Linked DNA regions of Homo sapiens: region 1 is linked to region 2. Evidence: promoter capture Hi-C in 16 types of primary human blood cells and fetal thymus (Javierre and others, 2016). All regions are on one chromosome and are shown on one strand. Each heading gives the region's core, a stretch centred on a gene start or on the middle of the fragment in contact. The rest is flanking DNA. Distances are from core to core; before and after follow the strand shown.

Region 1 (6,550 bases), core at 2,245-4,744, 3.8 Mb before region 2:
GTTCAAGCGATTCTTGTGTCTCAGCCTCCTGAATAGCCAAGACTACAGGCACACGCCATCACACCTGGCTTATTTTTACCTTTTTTTTGTAGAGTCAGGGTTTTGCCATGTTGGCCAGGCTCGTCTTAAACTCCTGACCTCAAATGATTCACCCGCCTTGGCCTCTCAAAGTGCTGGGATTACAGGCGTGAGCCACCGCGCCTGGCCAAATAAAGTATTTTTAACATACAAGTTAAGCATTCTAGTTGTATTCCAAAGTAAATACAGTATGCTCAACAAACATATCCTTGGGTTCCAGTCCAGATTCAACCAACCTAGATTAAAAATTTTAAATCAAAAATTTAAAACCAATAAAAAACAGTGACCAGGTATGATGGCTCACACCTGTAATCCCAACACTTGGGGAGGCCGAGGCAGGACAGCTTGAGCCTGGGAGGTTAAAGGTGCAGTGAGCTGTGATCACTGTACTGTACTCCAGCCTGGGCAACAGAGCAAGACTCTGTCTCAAAAAAAAAGGAAAAAAAATACAAAATTTAAAATACAGCTGAACAACTAATTTCAAAGCATTTACATTCTATTAGGTATTGTACGTAATCTAGAGATAAAGTACAGGGGAAGATGTGTATAGGTTATATGCAAATACTACATCTCATAAGGGACTTGGACATCCAAGGATTTGGGTATTCACAGGGGGGTCCTGCAACCAATCCCCCTCAGATACAAAGGGAGGACTGTAACTTTAGTCTTAGAAAAGGGCTGTTACCTTAGAACTTTGTCATGTGTAAAATACAGTATAAATTGTTTTAAATGATGTATGAGGTCTCATGCTTTAAAAGATCATTAGAAAAGAATTATTTCATTTCTAAGCAAGCAATTAAAAAAATAATGTCTTCCATTTGTTTACAGGATAAATGTGCATCCTCACTAGGAAAAAAAAGTTTGTGTGAAAAGCTGGATCCAACCATTATCAGTTTTGAAATAAATTCCTTTCTGAAATAAAATATTAGAAACATAAGCATTTAAACAAAAAATTTTGTTTTTCAACATCATTTTATCCTTTATATACCATTACACTTACAGAATCTGACACATAATTTCTCTGCTGTTAAGAAATAGCAGTATGGGCCGGGTGCGGTGGCTCAGGTCTGTAATCCCAGCACTTTGGGAGGCCAAGGCAGGTGGATCACGAGGTCAGGAGTTCAAGACCAGCCTGGCCAAGATGGTGAAACCCCGTCTCTACCAAAAATACAAAAATTAGCCAAGTGCAGTGGCAGAGGCCTATAATCCCAGCTACTTGGGAGCCTGAAGCAGGAGAATCACTTGAACCCGGGCAGCAGAGGTTGCAGTGAGCCAAGAAAACGCCACTGCATTCCAGCCTGGACGACAGACTCCGTCTCACAAAAAAAAAAAAAAAAAAAAAAAAACAAAAAAAAAAAAAAGGAAGAAGAAAGAAAGAAAGAAATAGCAGTATGCTGGGCCGGGCGCAGTGGCTCACTCCTATAATCCCAGCATTTTGGGAGGACGAGGCAGGCAGATCACCTGAGGTCAGGAGTTCAAGACCAGCCTGGCCAACATGGCGAAACCCCATCTCTACTAAAAAAATACAAAAATTAGCTGGGCATGGTGGCAGGCGCCTGTAATCCCAGCTACTCGGGAGGCTGAAGCAGGAGACTCCCTTGAACCCGGGAGGTGGAGGTTGCAGTGAGCCCAGATCATGCCACTACACTCCAGCCTGGGTAACAGAGCAAGACTCCGTCTCAAAAAAAAAAAAAAAAAGAAAAAGAAAAAGAAAAAGGCTGGGCACGGTGGCTCACGCCTGTAATCCCAGCACTTTGAAAGGCCAAGGCGGGTTGATCACGAGGTCAGGAGTTCGAGACTGGCCTGGCCAACATGGTGAAACCCCATCTCTACTAAAAAAATAAAAATTAGCTGGGCATGGTGGCGGGCATCTGTAATCCCAGCTACTCGGGAGGCTGAAGCAGGAGAATCATTTGAACCTGGAAGGCAGAGGTTGCAGTAAGCCGAGATCGTGCCACTGCACTCCAGCCTGGGTGACAGGGCGAGACTCCATCTCAAAAAAAAAAAAAAAAAAAAAAAAAAGAAAGAAAGAATGAAAGAAAAGAAATAGCAGTAAGCTATAAAATGCTAAGACTAAAAATTTTACTAATATGCAGTTCCTCCAATGCTAAAAAGCTTGAAGAAAAAGAGTACCACTAAACATCCTGGACCCAGGAAACTGGTTTCTGAGTCAAAAAAGATAATTAAACAGGTAGTAAAATGTATTGTGTAACAAAACTAAAAATTTTAAACATTTCTCAAAATTTTTCTTCACTCACTGCTAACAAACCAAATTTTTTTTGTGTGTAAACCTGAATTCTTTAAAGGTAATTTTAAAATTTTATCCGTGGTAATCCTGCGGTTTTCAAGAATGCCAAAATAGGCCAGGTGTGGTGGCTCACACCTATGATCCCAGCACTTTGGGAGGATCTCTTAAGAGCCCAGGAATTCGAGACCATCTGGGCTACACAGTGAGACCTTGTTTCTACAAAAAAATTTAAAAATTAGCCAGGCATGGGGTGGTGTGCACTTGGGGTCCCAGCTACTCAGAAAGCTGAGGTGGGAGGATCACTTGAGCCGAATAGGTCGAGGGTGCAGTGAACCGAGATCTGCCACTGTACTTCAGCCTGGGCAACAAAGCAAAACACTGCCTGCCACCATTGCTCCTGCCCTCCAAAAACACCTTAAATTATGATTTTAGGATTTTGCAAGTGCTTTTAAAGCTTTAAGTGAGTCTTAAATGTCCGGTATTCTTGGGGTTTTTTAAGACGGTGGGGAAAAATGTTAAGAGGAAAAGCTGACAGCTCACAAAATAAATGTTAAAACTTTGATATAATAAGTAATGGCTTTGTCTAAACATACGCTAAACAGATCTTTTGAATTCTGGTTTAAAATCACATTATTTTTGCTTTCTCTTTAGCCCATAATTTTGATGTCAATTACTAGTTGTTCCTAAAATATATAATCAACATTTTCACCAACTTTTATTTTATTTTTTGGCAGACAGGGTCTGACTCTGCCACCCAGGCTGGAGTGCATGGCATGATCTCTTGGCTTACTGCAGCCTCAACCTCCTGGACTCAAGCGATCCTCCCATCTCAGTCTCCCAAGAAGCTGGGACTACAGGCACACGCCACCATGCCTGGCTAATTTTCTTATTTTTTGGAGAGACAGGGTCTAGCCATGTTGGCCTGCCTTGGCCTCCCAAAGTGTTGGGTTTACAGGCATGAGCCACTGCACCCAGCCTCCCTGTGGATTTCTTAAATAAAACCTATAGAAACACTAACCACAGAGAAAATAAAAGGACAAATTCCACATTATAATCAATAATTTGTTCATCGAAAGATGCCATAAGGCTGGGTGTGGTGGCTCACACTTGTAATCCCAACAGGTTGGGAGGCTGAAGTGGGAGGATCGCTTGAGAGCAAGAGTTCAACACCAGCCTGGGCAACAAAGTGAGACCTCTATTATTCAACAACAACAACAAAGCCATAAACTAAATGAAAGAACTCATTGTGAAAGAAGACATTTATATCACACACAAATGACAAAGAACTAGGAAAAAAAAAAGAAACAGCAAAAGACAAACACTTCAGCACAAGAAGAAATCTAAATGACAAACATTAAAAGATGCTCGGACAGACACGGTGGCTCACGGCCAGGTGCGGTGGTTCACGCCTGTAATCCCAACACTTTGGGAGGCTGAGGTGGGTGGATCACCTGAGGTCAGGAGTTCACGACTGGCCTGACCAACATGGTGAAACCCGTCTCTACTATAAACACAAAAATTAGCTGGGCGTGGTGGCAGGCACCTGTAATACCAGGTACTTGAGAGGATGAGGCAGGAGAATCGCTGGAACCCAGGAGGCGGAGGTTGCAGTGAGCTGAGACCACACCACTGCACTCCAGCTTGGGCAACAAGAGTGAAATTCCGTCTCAAAAAAAAAAAAAATACGCTCAACATGTTTTAAGGCTTAAATGATTCATGGAGTAAGTCCGAATGTCTCTGTAGCTCATCAGACTGTTCATGATTGGATCTCTGCTTAACTTCTCCAATGCTCCCTCCTCCTCCTTTCATCCTACCCACAATTTGCAGACCTTCCTCTTCCTGAACCAGCTTCCCACTCTCACTATAATCTGTCTAAGCTTATTTGTCCTTCTGGTTTCGGTTTACAGAGCTGAGAGCCTAGCCTGACCCGCATCCTCTCCGTCCCCTTTCCACTTGGAGTCTACAATTGCCTCTTTGCTTTGTCCTGTTCATGGTTGTATCCAGGATCCATAATGCCTAATGCTGTGCTCGGCAGAGTGATCTAGACACTGCAGTTTCTTTAGAAACCTAGTATCAAATGCCCATCTTTCTTGAATACCCTGGAATCCTCTCCATAACGGGAGGTGAAATGTATACGTTTTATTTTTACAAGTCTCTTAAACTCAACCTCAAGAAACAAATAACATACGCTATTCAATATGAATGTAAAGTACATCCTTACAATAAATACACCCGTTTGGTTTGGATTCAACAATCAATTCATGCTCAAGTAAACAATACGTCATGCTTTTCTAACCAGGAGTTTGTTATTGCGGATGCTGGCTCTGTTCCCCACAAGCATATTCTACTAATGCACAACTATATATATTTAAACTGCGGGAAAGGGTCGCTTAAACAAGGGTAACACTATAATTACACTTAGAAAAATCTCAGAATTCCTTTAGGACACTTTAAACTGGATTTAAATGGATTTGAAATCCATTACTCAAAACCACTAACTAGCGGCCGGGCACGGTGGCTCACACCTGTAATCCCAGCACTTTGGGAGGCTGAAGTGGGTGGACCACTTGAGGTCAGCAGTTTCAAGACCAGCCTGGCCAACATGGTGAAACTCCATGGTGAAAAATCAGCCGGACCGCGGTGGGCACACCCGTAATCCCAGCTACTCGGGAAGCTGAGGCAGGAGAATCACTTGAACCCGGCGGGCAGAGGTTGCAGTGAGCCGAGAAAGCGCCACAGCACTCCAGCCTGGGCGACAGAGCGAGACTCCATTTCAAAACAAAACCAAACAAAAAACACGAACTGGCTCTTATCTTGAATGAGTTATTTTTTCTGAGCCTTTATTTCTTCGTTTGTTCAAATAGCGACCATTAAACTTTGTGTTTAGTATCTGACAAACGGCCGGGCTCGGTGGTTCATGCCTGTAATCCCAGCACTTTGGTAGGCCAATGCGGGCCGATCAAGAGGTCAGGAGTTCGATACCAGCCTGGCCAACATAGTGAAACCCGTCTCTACTAAAAATACAAAAATTAGCCAGGCGTGGTGGGGCGCACCTGTAGTCCCAGCTACTTGGGAGGCTGAGGCAGGATAATCTCTTGATCCAGAGACAGAGGTTGTGGTGAGCCAAGAACGCGCCACTGCACTCTAGCCTGGACAAAAGAGCAAGACTCTGTCTCAAAATACATATATATGTATCTGGCAAACAGCAAAAGCAAGCTTTTCAAAATGTCGCCAGCTGCCCGGATAAAAAGCCCTAAACAGACCGGGCGCGGTGGCTAGCGCCTGTAATCCCAGCACTTTGAGGCCGAGGCGGGTGGATCACCTGAGGTCGGGAATTCCGAGACTAGCCTGACCAACATGGAGAAACCCCGTCTCTACTAAAAATACAAAATTGGCGGGGTGTGGGGGCGCATTCCTGTAATCCCGACTACTCGGGAGGCTGAAGCTGGGGAATCGCTTGAAGCCGGGACGCGGAGATTGCGGTGAGCTGAGATCGCGCCATTGCACTCCAGCCTGGACTTGAGCGAAACTCTCTCTCAAAAAGGAAAAAAAAAAAAAAGCACTTAACTGCCCATAAAGTGAGGACAACTCCCGACAGGCTTCCCCGGAGTCACTCACGTCCACACATCTTTGTCCAGCGCCCGATTAAGGCCTCTAAAAGCCCAGTGGTGCCCCATAAAAATTACACTATTTCATAAAATAAAATATTTTCCACTCGACACGAATTTCCACATACGTCAAAATATTCTATCTTCGTCTCGGTGCACGTGCAGCCTACCTACCGAAGGACCCAGCCGGATCCCAGCACTTCGGCTCCCCACGGCCCCGCCCCGCCCAATTAGGCCCCGCGGTCCCCATGGTGACACACCCCCCCGCGCTCGCAGCTCGTGGCCCACCCCCTCGGCGGCCCCTCACCTAGGCCGAAGGCCCACCGTCCCCAAGGCGTCTCGGCGACCGCGGCTCTTAACTACCTCTAAGTGTCTACCTCGATCGACTACTGGAGCCCCAACTCACTATCTCCGCGCCGGCCGAGGAACCTCCTTTCGCACCCCACACCACCGGACTCTCCCCGTTCGGCCTCCCGCAGGCATTCCTCCTTCCCGCCACCCCGCCCCCCGCCCCGCCCACCAAGTGGGCCGGGCGCCTTCCCCTTCTCGCCCCACCCCCAGTGCTCCCACCTCCCAGGCCCCCTCCCCACCCGGAGCTGCGCGCGTCGCCCCTTCC
Region 2 (6,647 bases), core at 1,196-3,695:
ACTCCATCTCTTTAAAAGCAACACACCAAACTATCCAATGGTTTCTCATCTCATTCTAAGTAAAAGTCTTCAGTCTAAATAAAAGTCAGTCTTCACGGCCACCTACAACACCCTGTTTGATATGGCCTCCAACTACCTCTCTGACCTCCAGGCCCCTCTCCACCCCCTGCTCCTTCCTCTACTCCTACCCCCTGCTCTCTACCCCCTGCTCTTTTCTCTCATCCACACAGTCCTCCTCCTTAAAGTTCTCTGAATAGGCTACACCTATTATTGCCTCTGGGTTTTGGTGTTTGCTGTTCTCTAAGCCTTAACCACTCTTTTTTTTTTTCTCCTTCCAGAAAATTCTCCTGGCTTCCTCCTTTCCTTCCTTCAGGTTTCTGTTCAACGTTTTTCCTATTTAAAATATCAACTCTCCGGGCGTCGTGGCTCATGTCTGTAATCCCAGCACTTTGGGAGACGAGGCAGGCAGATTGCTTGAGGCCATGAGTTTGAGACCAGCCTGGGCAACACGGCAAAAACCCGTATCTACTAAAAATACAAAAATTAGCCAGGGCTTGGGCCTGTAATCCCGGCTACTCAGGAGGCTGAGGTGGGAGGATCGCTTGAGCCCAGACGTCGAGGCTGCAGTGAGCCAAGATCGTGCCATTGCTCTCCAGCCTGGGTGACAGAGCAAGACCCTGTCTTGAGAAAAAAAAAAAAAAAGCAACTCCCCCCATGACACCCTCAATCCCTTTACCCTGGCGTATTTTGCATCACAGTTCTTTTTGTCTTCCCAAATTAAACTTTAAAGAGCTTAATTAGAATCTAGGGTTGGTTTGTTTTGTTCTCTGCTGTATTCCTAGGATTTCAAATAGTGTATGGCACTGGATATGTATTCAATAAATACGTGTTGAATAGGTGAATAACTTGTATTCCCAGTGCTCAGTAATATAACCCAGAGTCAATCAATTCACCTTGTTTCTTTTGGGGGCTTGGAGCGGGTGTCTTCGTTCCCTCATCTCTCAAAGGAGAGGTGAGCTAGGTCATCTCAAAATAGACATTAATTTAACACATATTTAATGAGACCTACTGTGTGTCTGGCACTGGGTAGGTGTATGGCCTACAATAAGAGATCACAGTCCCTACTGATAAGGAGTTCGTGGGATTAACTGATAAGGAGTCCAGTGGGATAAACAGTCACTTCGGAAATGACCGTGGGAGGGCTTCCAGAGGAAATACCCGCCGCGTTTGCCTCGTGATAGGTAGGGGACAGGCAGGTGTAGAGGGAGTGGAAGGCTGTTCTCAGCTTCCCACGTGTGCACAGGGAACCGATCCAGTCTGTAAGCCCTGTGAAGGCAGCGACGTGGTTTTTTTGTTTTGTTTTAGACAGAGTCTCGCTGTGTCACCCAGGCTGGAGTGCAATGGCGCCATCTTGGCTCACTGCAACCTCCACCTCTCGGGTTCAAGCAATTCTCCTGCCTCAGCCTCCCGAGTAGCTGAGATTACAGGCGCCCGCCACCACGCCCGGCTAATTTTTTGTATTTTTAGTACAGATGGGGTTTCACCATGTTGGCCAGGCTGGTCTCCAACTCCTGACCTCAGGTGATCCACCCGCCTCGGCCTTCCAAAGTGATGGGATTACAGGCGTGAGCCACTTCGCCAGCGATGGGTTTAACTTGCCAGTTTTCTCCCCATATTTGGCTGGAGACTCTTAATTACATTGTTCTTTTACTTCTCACATGTATATGTGCATTTACTGAAGGGAGAGGCGCGGTAGGGGTGGAGGGTTGGGGAAGAGAGTCAGTTCAATTCCAGCTTTAAAACTATAGGATTTTTGGTAGAATTCATTTATTTTCTAAAGCGAGGCCCCGCGTACGCGCTTAGGGTGGGGACCTGCGCGTTCCTTTACACTGTTCCCAGGCCCTGATAATCCACATCCTATCATGTTGAACCTGGGAGGCAAACGGCAAGGTGCAAAAGACCTCCACGGTTTCTCCGGCCCGCGTTTCTGAGAGTGAAGGGCCGTTCCTATTGGACATGGCGTCAGGGCTGAACGTTAGCAGCAACATCTGCACTCGGGGGCGGGGGAAACCTTCCCACGTCCTGGGATCTTCATAGTCGGCTCTCCTCGAGAGTTCTCGGTATTTTTACTAGTTGGCCTCCCACAAGCCTCTGCGCCAACCTGGGAGGAGTTGACCTCTTGCGGCTCTACCAACAGAGGAGTGCAGGGGTGCAGCGAATGAACACGATGCCCAGATCGGAGACGGAAGACGGAAAAGAAAAGCTTCGATAATGAATCAAGCAACATCGTTTATGTAAATATTACATTGGGTCTTCTGTCCTCGGAGAAGTGCGGTTTTCCATCTTCCAACCTAAAACAATCCGTCGCTCCCCCCACATTTGGCACGCCCGGCAGTTGGTCTCTGCCGCGCCAGGCTACCCTGCGGTCACATGCTCCTCCTGTCCTTCTGGCGGAGCGTGCTTCCCGCTGCGGGGACGTTCGAGCAATGGCAGCCCTGCTGAGATCCGCGCGTTGGTTGCTGCGTGCCGGGGCGGCCCCGCGCCTCCCGCTCTCCCTGCGCCTCCTCCCTGGCGGCCCGGGCCGGCTGCATGCCGCCTCCTATCTGCCCGCCGCTCGCGCCGGGCCCGTGGCCGGGTGAGTGCCCAGGCCCTTTCTCCAGGCAAGCTGCGGCGCCAGGGTCCCCCGGGGTCGTGGGTGCCGGCAGGGACCGGGTCCTGCCTGTGCTCGCCACCCTTCTCCCCGCCCCAGGACCTAGCCTCCCCGGGCTCCGCACCACGCTCCCTACCAGGGGTTTTCGGGTGACAGGGTTAAGCGCCTTCAGAAGGTCACGGCTGTGGGCATGGCCTGCCTCCGGCTTGAATCCTGCCCCCGCCACTTCAGCCTGGACCTTACTGCCCTCGGGGTACCCATGGTCAACGAAGATGAGGGGGGCTTTGAAGACTGCTTTGGGAAGTCGGGTGGTGGTCTTTTCCTTACACTTGGCCAGCTTGGGTGGTGTCCCACGTGCGGTCACCGTTGGTGATCAGTAACCACCTAGCATTTAGATATTGGAAATTTAGCTTTTTGCGAGGGATGGGGCGGCGAGGAGTGGGTTGGGAGTTTGGGTGAGCCACGGATGACTTAAAGCTGGACGCTGGATTATGATCACTTTGGGCTTTTGCCTGCGTTCTCTTGAATGGAGTTTTCCTTCAGCATTTAAGAAGGTGTTGCGCGAGTTGGGCTGGAGTGCAGTGGCGCGATCTCAGCTCACTGCAACTTCCGCTTCCCGGGTTCAAGCGATTCTCCTGCCTCAGCCTCCCGAGTAGCTGGGATTACAGGTGTGCGCCACCATGCCAGGCTAACTTTTGTACTTTTAGTAGAGACTGGGTTTCACCATGTTGGCCACGCTAGTCTCGAACTCCTGACTTCAAGCGATCCTCCTGCCTCGGCCTCCCAAAGTGCTGGGATTACAGGTGTGAGCCACCGCTCCCGTCCTGTAAGTGTCTTTGAATGAATGAGCACATGCAAGGCACTCTGTTGGAATCTGGGGATGCAAAGGCAAGTTAAACTCTAAGTGGGTGTCAGATAGGCGAATAAATGCTCTCATGGTTTGAGGTTTATCAGAGATAGGTTTGGTATAGACTTTTGTAGTGGAGGGGAAAAGAAAAGTTGGTGAAAGTGTTCATTTGGTTATTAATAGTATTCTGACCACCAGAGAAGGGGAGATAGGTGCTGAGCTTTTAGCATTGGAGAAAAAATGATTTTGAAAGACTGATGCTTGTAAATTAAGGTACTTTGAGAGCTCGCGTAAGGACTGAGAGCCAGGGATCTGCAGTAGGCTGGGCCCAGACTGCAGCCTACTCCAGATTTATCTGCATTTTATCCTCAAATTATCTGCATTATGCCATTAGAGAAGTTACTTAACATCTCCAGGCCTCAGCTTCCTTAGCTATAAGGTGGGAGTAGTAGTAGTGTTAGGAATATTGCAGAATTATCTGTATTAAGCACTTAGTATAGGGCCTGATGCCTAGTAAGTGCTTTGTTGGTTACTACAGGAGTCATAATATCTACGGTTATGCGGACCTTCATGGACCAGCCTGAACACCTAATCTCGCCATAAAATTACGTGGAGGAAATAATTTATGATTTCTTAACAACTTAGTTATAATCTTTGGAATGGAGCGTACTTGTAATTTGGAGTCTGCCTATATTTTCTTATTGGGCTTGAACAGTTAACTTTCCGAAATCATGCCTCTGAGCACAGAACTATATACATCTCTTGGCTTTCAGAGTTTCTTTTGAGAAAGTTGTGCCCATTACTCTTATTTTTCTAATCCTCAGCATTTCTGTGAGGCCAGGGGAAGGTCCACATTTTCTTTTATCTTCACTGTTGCATTTGAGGAGAACTGAATAAAGAGAGAACATAGTTTAGTAGAAAGGGTGGTCTCGGTGTTCATCAGACCTGGGTTCTGTTTACTTACTGCGTAATCTCAGCCATCTTACTAACCTGTCTGTTCCTCAGTTTCATTATCTGTAAAGGCCTTTCCCCCTTATCTTTGTAAAGTTGCTTTCTTATCATTCAGATCTCAAATGTCTCTTCAGGGAAGCCTTACCTCAACACTCAATCCAAAACATGCCGGTCCCACTGTAGATTTATTCGTGGCACACCTCACTTGTCTGATATCATTACTTATTTCTCTGGTTTTTTTTTTTTTCTTTAGTAGAAGGTAAGCTATATGAGAGCAGGACTTTGTCTTGTTCACCACTGTGTGTTCAGGTGACAGCAGGCAATAAAGAAGTGATTGTTCCCTCTTTTTCCTGGACTCTGAGCACTGTATATAGTCTCCTACCCGACATCCTGTAAGCATGCCCAGATCTTGCCCACGTGAAACACAGAACCTTTCCTGGAACTCTGTTTACTCTAGAAGTTTCTCAGTCTCTTCCCTGTCCATACTTCTCTGTCCCTTTAATTTCATCACTTTTCATTCACTTTCCTATCCACTGCAGTCACACCGCTGTCAAAGGCCATTATTATCTTATTGATTTTTTTATTGTATTTTTGAAAAATTATTTCAAAAGTGCCTTGAAGAACAGTTGCAAAAATTATTCCTTAAGGTGCCTCGAGGGACAGTTGCAAAACCTGGGTGGTGGGAACAATAAACTAAAAATCACCCTTAATTATGTCAACCAGAGAGCCATTCATTGATAGCTGTCCTTCTAATGACTTATGTATGTGTAAGATGTATGTTTATTTAACTTTTTGAAAGGACCTCTTTTAATTACCAAATCCACTTTTTAGGCCTTGACCTGGCATATTACTCTGTCTTCCATTTTCCCCTTCATGAGACACTTTTCTTGGTATTGATGACACCATTTTTCTAGGTTCTCTTCTCTTTAGGATTTGTCTCATTTGCTTGATTCCTCTTGCTTCTGTTCACCTATTAAATGCTGATGTTCTTGGTAGTTTTACTCGTGGTCCTTCTGTGTTTTCTCAACATTTTCATTCTCTTTTGTGACCTTTTCCATTTTTCAGGGCATTACTTACCTATCTGATGATGTTTCTCCCAGATATGGACCATCTACTACACATCCACCTGCTTGAACTATAGGTACTTCAGAGCCAACACAGCTCAAATTGGACCCCTCCTTCTTCTTTCATCTGTTCCTCTTGTGTTCCCTATTTTCGTGAATGTTGCTGTTTCTACCTGCCTTCCAGAAAGATCCTGGATATCTACATATTTGTTTTCCCATTCATCTCTCACTCCCTTCACCCCCCATTTATTGATTGCACAAATGATTAAGCCCTGTTAGATCTGCTTCATTTGGAATGCATCCCTTTTCCTCCAGCCCCTTCATCATTCCCTAGTCTCCCTGATAATTTGATCATGTCATTTTCCTGCTTACACTTAAGCATTGTGGTGGCTCCCATTGGGTCCAGAAGGAGATCCAGACTCTTTAGCACAGGTGCTTTATGAGCTGGAGTTGCCTCTGGAGCGTCAACTCTTCTGAGTTCCCTCCCATGGCATCCTGCGTTCTAGCCGTACCAGACTACTACTTTGAAGTGCTCTACAGCAGGGCTTCTCAAACTCTAGTGAGCATGATTGCCTGGGGCTCTCGTTAAACTGCAGATTCTGATTTTGTAGGTCTAGTGCTTGTCTGTGGATCTGTAAGGCTTTGATGGGCCATGTTGTATATTTCCTTGCCTTTGAGTGTAATGTTGACTCTTGGAATGTGTCTCCCCTTCCCCCTTAGTCAGGTGTCCCCCATCTCTGTTGAACCTTAACTTGACTGCCTCTCCCATTTGACTGGCTCCTTTCTTGTGCCTCCTCTTAGACCGTGTATCACTAAAGCACCCATTAACACTATGACGTGCACTCACCAACACTCTGGAGCTGGCTGTAAGTTGCTTGAAGGCAGATACTGTGTCTTACTCCTTTTGCTTTCCCTGGTGTTTAACTTTGTGGCATATAGTAGGTGTCAAATGTTTGTTGAGTGAATCAATGAAAATCTTAAGACATTGAAGAAGGAATATGGTAAACTGGAGGAGATTGAAGGGATGCTTAACCCACCCATGCAGTGCAGTGTGTCTACACAAATTCACCCTGAGCTTGATTTCCAGGAATGTCCTATTTGAGGACAAATGAGTATTAGTGAGTGAAATTATTAG

Evidence for each region. The method cuts DNA at HindIII sites, captures the fragments that hold promoters and counts their contacts. A CHiCAGO score of 5 or more calls a contact.
Region 1: a fragment that was not itself captured here is called in contact with the fragment with the promoter of LRPPRC in region 2 in 1 of 17 cell types (fetal thymus); the score reaches 5.2 in fetal thymus.

The regions. Positions count from the first base shown.
Region 1 is chr2:47,783,797-47,790,346 of GRCh38, reverse strand. All of the region lies in intron 1 of MSH6 (mutS homolog 6), which reads right to left. Among named protein-coding and RNA genes, the nearest start is that of MSH6, 3.9 kb to the right of the region's middle. RefSeq lists a silencer at 6,420-6,509. The HindIII fragment of the contact is 1,423 bases long and covers 2,783-4,205 here.
Region 2 is chr2:43,991,787-43,998,433 of GRCh38, reverse strand. It overlaps LRPPRC (leucine rich pentatricopeptide repeat containing), which reads left to right and starts at 2,445. Exons shown (of 38, transcript NM_133259.4): 1 at 2,445-2,635. The coding sequence starts at 2,487. RefSeq lists enhancers at 2,168-2,447, 2,243-2,894 and a silencer at 2,548-2,867. The HindIII fragment of the contact is 4,663 bases long and covers 2,266-6,647 here.